Linked DNA regions of Homo sapiens: region 2 is linked to region 1. The links are contacts of gene promoters, found by promoter capture Hi-C in blood cells and fetal thymus (Javierre and others, 2016). All regions are on one chromosome and are shown on one strand. Each heading gives the region's core, a stretch centred on a gene start or on the middle of the fragment in contact. The rest is flanking DNA. Distances are from core to core; before and after follow the strand shown.

What was found. The method cuts DNA at HindIII sites, captures the fragments that hold promoters and counts their contacts. A CHiCAGO score of 5 or more calls a contact.
Region 2: a contact is called between a fragment that was not itself captured here and the fragment with the promoter of KIAA1671-AS1 in region 1, in 1 of 17 cell types (total B cells). The highest score is 5.0, in total B cells.

The regions. Positions count from the first base shown.
Region 1 is chr22:25,110,487-25,115,163 of GRCh38, reverse strand. KIAA1671-AS1 (KIAA1671 antisense RNA 1) reads left to right here and starts at 2,472. Exons shown (of 5, transcript NR_038941.1): 1 at 2,472-2,547; 2 at 2,741-2,977; 3 at 4,167-4,206. All of the region lies in intron 6 of KIAA1671, which reads right to left. RefSeq lists enhancers at 2,793-3,654, 3,655-4,517. The HindIII fragment of the contact is 1,710 bases long and covers 989-2,698 here.
Region 2 is chr22:26,076,565-26,081,241 of GRCh38, reverse strand. No RefSeq gene overlaps it. Among named protein-coding and RNA genes, the nearest start is that of LINC02559, 73 kb to the left of the region's middle. The HindIII fragment of the contact is 4,962 bases long and covers 1-4,677 here.

The sequences.
Region 1 (4,677 bases), core at 1,223-3,722:
TAAACGTGCCTCTTCCTGCCTTTGTGGCTCAGAGACAAAGCATTTGTTTTCCCTCTTTCCCCCTTTTATCCCTTGGACACAGAAGCAGGCAGGCCATTAGCAAATTACTTCAAGGCTGGCTTTAGAAAACATTTCAGGGCACGCCTTTGAGGGTTATTTTGTGCCCGCAATAGATTCTTCTACACTGCTCTGAGTAAATACAAGCCGGAGGCAGGAACCAGGATGAAATGAATGGATTATTTAGATAAATCATGTACAAGGTCAGAAAGACTAAAATCCTGCCCCCTCCCAGCCCCAGCCACGGATACTGCTGTTGTCCCAAACTCTTAAGTAATTGTCTGTGGCTTTAAAAAGTTTCTTCCCATAAAACGAATATTTAAGTGAAGTCCCTGAGTAAAAAGGGCGTGTGTGGGTTTTCCAGCTCATTGAAAATCTTTGAAGTGATGGTTTGAGAGGAAAGGTTTGGTTGCCACAAGAACTAATTTTTAAGCACCACAAGCTAAGAACGGCCACGCTCACCACACATTTACCAGCACATCAATGCACGATCATCCCCATTTCACAGAGGAGGAAATCAAGGCACAGAGAGGGAAGGAGTCTGTCCAAGATCACACAGCTGGGAAGCGGCAGAGCCAGGACTCAACCCCTAGGCAGGGGGTCCCTGGCCTTGCGTTTCGTTGACTTATCTGCAACACTGCACATGTTCCTATCCTAACTCTGCCTTTATCCTGCTCAGGCAGAGTATCTAGGCAAGCAACAGAGAGAGAGCATTCACAAGTGTGCAGATTCTGTGTGCCTGGCACTGTGCTGGGGGCTTGCTTCAATCTCATACCAAGGCCTTGGTTCTCCTCATTGGACACAGGAAGAAACTGAGGCTTAAGAATGGGTCAGGGCTCCTCAGCCAGGAGTCTGATTCAAGCTGTCAAGGCCAAGGCCAGCTGGTGCCTACCACCCAGTAGGGTGGCTACATGGGAAGGAGCCTGAAGCTTGAATGTATTTAGCATGTATTTACACTCTTGGTGGCATCTCGACGCAACACGGAATGGTTCTCTGCACCACCCAACTTCATTTATTCAACCAGCTGGAGAGGCCACTCCTGCCAGTGGCACCAACCTGTAACACAGGGTAAGACGCCTAGGGGATTCATGCCAATGCCCATGGTCACACCACTCCCCAGGGTGGGGAAAGAGGGATGCCAACAGAGCCTGCCTGTCACCAACCCCATACCCTGAGAGAGAACAGGAGTGACAGAGAAACAAACAGAGACAGAGCAAGGCAGAAAGACACATCACAGAGACAGAGATACACACAGAGGGAGACAGAATGAATGAGGGGCCTTCTTTCCCTGTGGCAAGTCACACCTTCCAGAGGTTGGGGAATCTGTCTCATAAATCCAAGCCCCACTAATTTGTTCTGGGCCACAAAGAAGCACAGACCCACTGTGAAGGAGACGTCCTGTGAACGAGACACGTGTCATGCCCAAGTGCTCGGCTCCTGCCTTGCATTTGCAACTGCCTGCTCTGGCTGCTGCGTGACCTGGGGTGAGTCACACCTCTGGGTCAGCAGAGGGGATACTGAGCCCCTGCACCTGGCAGGGCAGCTGTGAGCCCTGCCACCTCGAGTGTAGGGAGGGCCAGCTCAGGGCTCCTCCCTAAATGCTGGGTCCCTTAATGACTATAGCACTCCTGGCTAGGAGGAACCCAGAAAAAGGGGCTGGCTTAGCCCTTCGCCTGTCCTCAAGTGCTCCCATAAACTGGGCCAACACAGTCAGGTGGCAGAAGTCTCCTATGTGAAAATGGCAGGCCCTCTCTTTAGGCTCAGGTCTGGTCAGTGACCTGGGCAGCCCTGAATTAATTGGGAGGGTCTGGGGAGAACATCTGCTGGGAGCTGGACTGCAAAGAGCCGTGAATGGGGAGGTCAGAGCCTGGGGTTCGGGACCTGGCTCTGCCACTCACTCACTGTGCTTCCCCCACAGTAGGCACTTTCGCTTTCTGGGCCCAGTCCCACCTCTCCAAATCATCAGAAGGACCTTACGATTGTTTCTGCACTGTCGCCTAGCAGGACACAGGCCAAGGTTTTAATCATTAGCTGTCATTCCACCCTGCTGTCCCAATCCAAGCCCTCCCGAGCCTGCCTGAGTAAGAAATCAAGGCCTCCCTCCCTGGCCCACTCACACCAAACCCAAGGTTCACGGCCAGCGGGCAAACTCGCCCACCACACCTCGGTCTCCTAAGACCCTTTCCTTGGCAATCCAATGAAAGCTCGGTGGAACGACAAAAGCTACAACTCAGCGTGCACATGACACCGCCACTTGTGCTTCCTAGGAGGGTGAGAGGAGATGAGGCAGGTGCCACTAATCCACCCTAAAAATAGGGAGAAGGATGAGCTTTCGTGTCGGGGGTTGGGGTGTTCACACTTAAACATAAATCAACTGGCAAATTCAGCCCAACTCACGTGCTGGCCCTGTCCACACAGACGTCGACTCCAGCAAAAATGTCCTGACTGACTTCAGGAGAGAGGAATTATTGCTACGTGCCTCTTTCCCAGGTACAGGGGACAGGAAGTGCCTGGGCTTTGACTGACAACTATTCTGGAAGAAGTAACTTCCCCGGTTTGATGTCTGGGACCCCCTCCCTGGGAGGACTGGAGGGGAGGAGCTTTCAGTGTTGTTTTAATATTTTTTAAAACATAATAAGCTTACAATATCTGGCGGTTCCGAATCTGTATGCCTTTTCCTCAGTGAAGAAAATCTCTGTTGGCTGCGAGCAGAGAAGCGGCGGAAGGATTCCCGACTCCGGGAAGCCAGGTGTCGGAAGGAGGAAGTACGCTTGAAGGGGGTCCGGCTGGCCGACTCTGCACTCGTCCGTTCGTGGCCCACCGTGGTGGTCACCAAATTGAGGGCTTCCTGGAAGGACCTCCTCACGGTGCCCATCCACTGGGTCATGTGGGTCTGGGCCACTGTGAGTTTATCTCCCAGGTAATCCATGGGGCCAGCCAGGAGGAGAGGGAAGAAGGAAGTTAGGGAGGGAGAGAGCAATTAAAACGCCAGTGTCCTCTTGCCTCTTTGGACTCTTTTGCTCATGGAAGTTTTGGGCTTGCTTGGAGGAAAAAAAATTAAAAACAGCAGCTTTCTTCAGGCAAACCAAGGGTAAGTAAACATCCCTGAGCCAGGAGCCGGCTGCATCCACGGGTGCCGCTCAGAATTAAGAGGCAGCTAAGTGCCAGGCTGGGAGTCCACCCCAGCGGAGTTATAAAGTCAACACACTGGGCAGTCCAGGTTCCAGTTCCAGGGCTCACCCAGCTGATCGGCCGAGACAAGGAGCTTTGAGGAACAAGCCGGCTGCACTCACTCCAGGGCGTGACGGTCCCGAAAGGCGGGGGATGGGGATGGGGGTGGGGGTGGAGGGGGCGGCCTTTGGGCACCCTCGTCCTCACTTCCCTTCAGGTAGGCAGCCCCCCTGAGGTGCACCCTGGGAGGTTCCGGTGGGCAAGCTGCCGCACCCTGCTGCCCCCTGCCCGGCTGCCCTCGGCCAGACCCCGCTCACCTGACCCATGCAGGTTTTCTGTCCTCTGGCTGGAGATTCCAAACCTGTCGGCCGGCAGGCGGCTAGCTCACTTCCGGAGGCAGCCACCAGGGCCCCCGGGTCCCCTGGCTGAGCAGCCCGGGATGACATCAGCCCCCGTCTTAGCGAGGGGCTTCGCTGCCCAGGAATGCAGGAGGGGCCTCGGGGAGGCGGAGGCGGTGGCGGCGGCCGCCCAGGGAGCTGACGTCCGCCCCCATTTTTTTCTCCCCCAAGTCCCAACTCGCTCACGGTCCCTCGGGGCTGATGGCAACTTCACGTGCCTGCCAGCCTACCCACCCCTGTGCCCTCACAGCAAGCGCACCAGGAAATGCGGCTGCACGTGTGTGCATGTGTGTGCACTCTGTGTGTGTGTGCGTGTATGTCGGCGATCTGGCAGCCCCGGGAAGGTTAGCACTGCTGGGAAACGGCTTCTGCCTCTAAGGTTACAGGCAGCGTCTTGGGACCTCTGGTCGGCTGTCAGTCTGTCTCCCTCTCGTGGTCTGTTTCTCTGTTGATTTCTCAGCCTCGCTCTCCTCCCTCTCCCTGTGTCTCAACTTCCACTTGCTTGTCTCTAAGCGTCTCTCCTCTCTCTCTCCTTTTCAGCTGTCTCTCCCTCCCTCTCTGGAAGGCAACACTGATCCAGGTGAGACAGCCTCTGAGGTCCCCCAGGAAGGACTGGGGAGGGCTGTATTTCAGTACAGGCGGAGTTGCCATGGCAACCCGGGGCACAGCATCTGCCCTGTCCTGGGCAGCAGGCTCAGCACTGGGAGCAATGGGAATGATTCATGGTTTACACTAGGTCACGTGAGCTCCCTGGGTTTTAACCCTTACAGGGCTGGAGTACTAGGGGTTGGGGGTACGACTAGACCCTAACACCCACTGTCCTCGGCCAGGCCCCGCTCATCTGACCCATGCAGGTTTTCTGTCCTCTGCCTGGAGATCCCAAACATGTCAGGGGTTGTTAGAAGGGGGTGGGCAGCAGCTGGATCCTGGAGGTCAGGCACACCTGTTAAAGGAGGTTTCTCCTTCTAGCAGGGATCCATGTCCCCCCAACCCCACTACTTTTACAGACAAGGAAATGCAGATTCAGAGACATAGATTCACTTGCCCAAGG
Region 2 (4,677 bases), core at 1,048-3,547, 970 kb before region 1:
AGTATTTTACATATATTAATTCATTTAATCCTCACAACAACTCTTTGAGGTAGGAACCACTGCTATCTTCGACATTCTTTAAATGAAGAAACTGAGGTACAGAGAGGTTAGGTAACTCATTAGGGTCACTGAGCTAGAAAAAGGGAATACTCAGTCATGAACCCACTTTTGGCCCCAGAGTCCATAATGGCTATGCTCTCCTGTCTCTCAATATAGCATTAGTTTTGATTGTTCTTGAACTTTATATACATGGACTTATATATTTTGGATTTTTATGGGATTTATCTCTTTGAATGAATATTAAGTTTCTGAGATTCATCCCCATTAATGTGTGTAGCTGTAGTTTATTCACTTTTTACAGCTGCATAATGTTCCATTATACCCATTCTCCTCTGATGTGTGTGCCTGTAGTTTGTTCATTTTTTACAGCTGCATAATATTCCATTATATCTATTCTTCTATTGTTAGAAACATGAGTTGATTCCAATTTCCCATTTGCTCTCTGCAGAGATCCCACCAAGTAGAATATGATCGTCTTGGTTTTACGGACCAGGAAACTGAGGCTGAGAGATGGGAAGAGGCTTTCCCAGGTCACAGCTGGCATATGCAGAGAAAGACGTTCAACTTGAAACTACCAGCTTTCAAGCTCTAGAGCTTTCTGTTGTTCTGTGCTGAGATATCAACTGCTAAGCACAGCCTTTTAAATCTGAAACTATGGTGCTATTTTTAATCTTTTTCATAAAGAAAAGTCTCTAACACCTCCCTTCTTTTCCTTCTGGGAAGAGCCACATTCATCCTTTCATATAAACAAATGTACATATGTTTGTAAACATACATACATGTAAATGACAATCCCTGAGTTAAGTTTTCTGGATAGAGAGATAAATAAGGTATGCCTGGCCTTAGAATTTCTCTGAGTGGGAAATTCTGAGGGAAAAAGGACAGACATTCCTAACAATAGTTAAAGTGTTAGGATCTAGAAGCACAAGGGAGGAAGCAAAAAATCAAAGAAGACTTCCTGAGGCTGAATAGGAGTTATACTGTTAGGCAAGGGAGGGCATTCCTGATGAGGAAACAACATCAAGACCGTGCAGTAGGAAAGTCATGGCATGTTCAGAGAGTGGGGAGAAATTTGGGGTGCCTTGAATGTCAACTGAGGAGAGAAGGAAGCATCTAAAGAGAAAAGTCCTATGTTGAGTAGTCCTGGATGCCAGGCTAAGGTGTTTGAACATGGTCTTATGAGGATGATTGTCATTGAGGGTTTCAAGTTGTGAAGGTGACAGGATAGGGCAACTGTTTCAGAACAATCTCATGTCTGACATGGAGATTAGTCTTGGGAAATAGTCATGGAGCTCCCCTTTGGAGAGAATGAAAGTCTAGGATCCCATTCTGGGCAGTGCTGAGGCTCCAGGCGGGAATTCAAAATATGTGTTTATGATCTTTTATTTTTTTCACGATAATAACTATACACAATGTGTTTGGGATGTACTCCATTAACTGGGTGAGTCTGGGAAAATGATTTAATCTCTCTGTGTTGTGGGTACCTTATCTATAAAATGAGCATAATAATATCTCCAAATAATATAAAGAAATTTTATGACAACTAAGTGAATTCATACTTGTGAAGCCATTAGAACTTTGGCAGGCACACAACCCTCAATATTATTGAAAGTTTTATGCTGTCATCATCGTCGTCATAATCATCATCATCATCATCATCATCATCACATTTTTAGGGCACAAAACCAGGCTTTGAAATATATTTAATGATATTGCATCTTTTGACTATCCCTGTGGAGTGGGTAGCACATTTTCCTTCATAGACAGAACAGAGTTTTGAGAGGTTGAGAGAGTTGCCCAATGTCACCGGAATCAATAACAGGCTTGCAATCTCAATTCATATCTTCTTCTGCGTTTTCAGCCATGAACACTTACACCCACTCTCAGGCCAGGACATTGTTCTATGCCCTACCTGGAATGTGAAAGGCCTTGGAAATTATCAACAATTTGAACTCTGCAATATCTCGGTCAGTACCTTGGACAGTGATGGGCATTCTTAAAGAGTTAAGCACTTAAGTCACAGAGCAACATTCCCCTAATGTTCATTCTAGCATAACCACTATCAGCCTTACCACAAATTAAATAGCATCTTCAGGGGGAGTCTGAATGCCTCCTTACTCACTTTATAATTCCGCAAGACATCCCCCCAGTCTACACTCTTCTTGTTTATCTTCAAGGCTAGTTTTTTGTTCTGATCACAGTGGGAAATATGTGCCCAGTTACTGAGCAGTTAATAAAGGCCAAAACTCATTTTCTCAAGAAATAGCGGTAAGATTAAAGCTGCAGAGTATAAGGTATCCTTCATTATTCAGGAAACAGGCATATGCTTGAGGGAGGATGGGGCTGGGAGGAAGATATGAAGGAAAGGGTGAAAATTACAAAACATGTTGGCAAACTCATGGGTTAGACCATTAAGATTACAAATCCAAAAATTCCATCTGATGGATTTCAGGGCCAAAACATGAAGACCAAGAAGAGTGAATCCCTTCAAATAAGCCCAAACAAGCCCTTGTTCTAAATGTCTTAGACTAAGATCAAAGGACCCCAACAAGGTCTTCCAATGACTTAACTCAACCTCTACTGAATCCAGAATTCTCTTCTTTGATGTCCTTCTCAGTGAAACTAAGGAGGATTCACAGATGAACAATATAAATGGAGCAGTCTCTCTCTGTAGCATCTCTTATTAATGTTCAGCATTTGGACTGGTTCTGGCCACCAGGAGGCTGTTTGGATGCTCCTGGTGGTCTGGTGGAGAAAGAACCCAAGCTAGAAGCTGGAGACTTGGGCATGATACCAATTTTGTCTGTTACCTGAGCCAGTTCTCTATCTTTTCTGGGCTTCAGCATCTGTATCTGTCAAATGCAGATAATACCTACCTTGGTTTCTTTGGTGGAGTGTGTGTGTGTGTGTGTGTGTGTGTGTACGTATGTGTGTGTCCACATGTAATCATAGATTGAATGATATAAGCACTTTGAAAAAGTAAACCCAAAAGTGTATAGTTCCCTTGTTTAGCTCTGATCACAGATAACTTAGCAATTATCTGTTTATATGTATTTCTTTCCCAAATGACAATGTGCTTCTTGAAGGTGGGGTCTGTATCTCATTCATCCTTGACTTTTTAGCACCCAAAACAGCTTCTTGTACAGACTGGTCCTCGCTAAATATTTGTGGAACAAGGGACAGGATAACCAAATAGTGTAGAGCACAAGCTCTGCATTAGAAAAGCAGGGTTATGTCTTGACTCTGTCACATCTCAGCAATGTGACCTTGGGCAAATCTTGTAACCTCTGCCATCCCCAGTTTCCCCATCTGTAAAAGGGTGCTGGCCACCTCAATGGGCCATTGGGAGTAGTAAATGAGGACATGAATATAAAACATTTAGGAGAGCTCTTGGTATCTAGTCAGTGGTCAAGAAACCTTAGCTAACATATTTATCTTCTGTATTCTAATTTTTGTGTTGTGAGCCATGAAGGGTGTCATGAAGGAGCTTAACCACTAAGTGAGCGCTCTGTCATTTTTTGTGTGATTATCCCAAATCTATTGCAATCTAACTGCTTTGTCTACCAGTGGATATACAGAAATAGCCATGACAGTCTCCAGGTGCTGTGGAAAGGTGGGCAGATGACAGTTGGCTCTGTTGTTGTTCTGCTTAGCAACCCCATACCAATTGCTTTCCATCTCCCAGCCTTGGTTTCCCTAGGTAAAGAAGTAGCAAGAACTGATTTCTGAACTCATCCCACTGTTTCTAAGCACCTTGAATAATCTCTGTGCTAAAAAGAGGTCATCCTTTCAGAAACCCCTGCAGCTGCTCCCAGGGAGGATGTTGGCGACCCAGTTCAAACCCAGGATGCCTGAAAGACACAGTTCAAAGCTGAAACAGAGACATGCACTCCGCATTTCATTTGAGGACATCTAAGTGGGAGGGCTCTCCTGAATCACACCCTCATCACCCCAGGGAGTCATTTTACCTGAGTAATACATTTTCCTGAACTGGGTACTCGCTCTTTAAAGGAAGTCATCAGTGGCTGTAATTCAACAAGAAGACCATTGGTGCTATACTGAAAAGTAACTAGAATCCATTTTCTTTCGAGAAATAGGATGCCTGCTTAGGGAATTGAGAAAAAAAAAAAAGCGAAGTAGGCTCTTCTTTACCTCCTTCACAAATTAGACAGAGCATGCAAATCTCGAGGCATCAGCAGTACTGGAAACTGGGGTCTCTTTGTATAGCCTCAGCAGGAACTGAGGATATACCAAACGACACTTGAGAGTTTTGGCTCAATTGCGGCTTTGCCGTGAACCAGCTATGTGACTTTGCGCACATCCTTTCCTTTTCCTGAGGCTGGGACTCAGTTGTCTACTCTGACACTGGCTTTTTCTGTCCTAACACAAAAGTAAGTAAGAAGAATTGTCCAGGATGGGTCAAATGCCCCTACTGTGAGTCCAGTACTGATCTGGGTGCTGGAGATGCAATGTAGTTCCTACGTGCCTAGAGCTGATGTCTAAGGAAGCAGAGATATAGAAAAGTAAGTTAGAATAATATTGGCAGCAGGGTTGGAGGAAGCACAGATGCCTTGGGGGAGATGTGGGGAGGGCTGTGTGTGTGTGTGTGTGTGCATG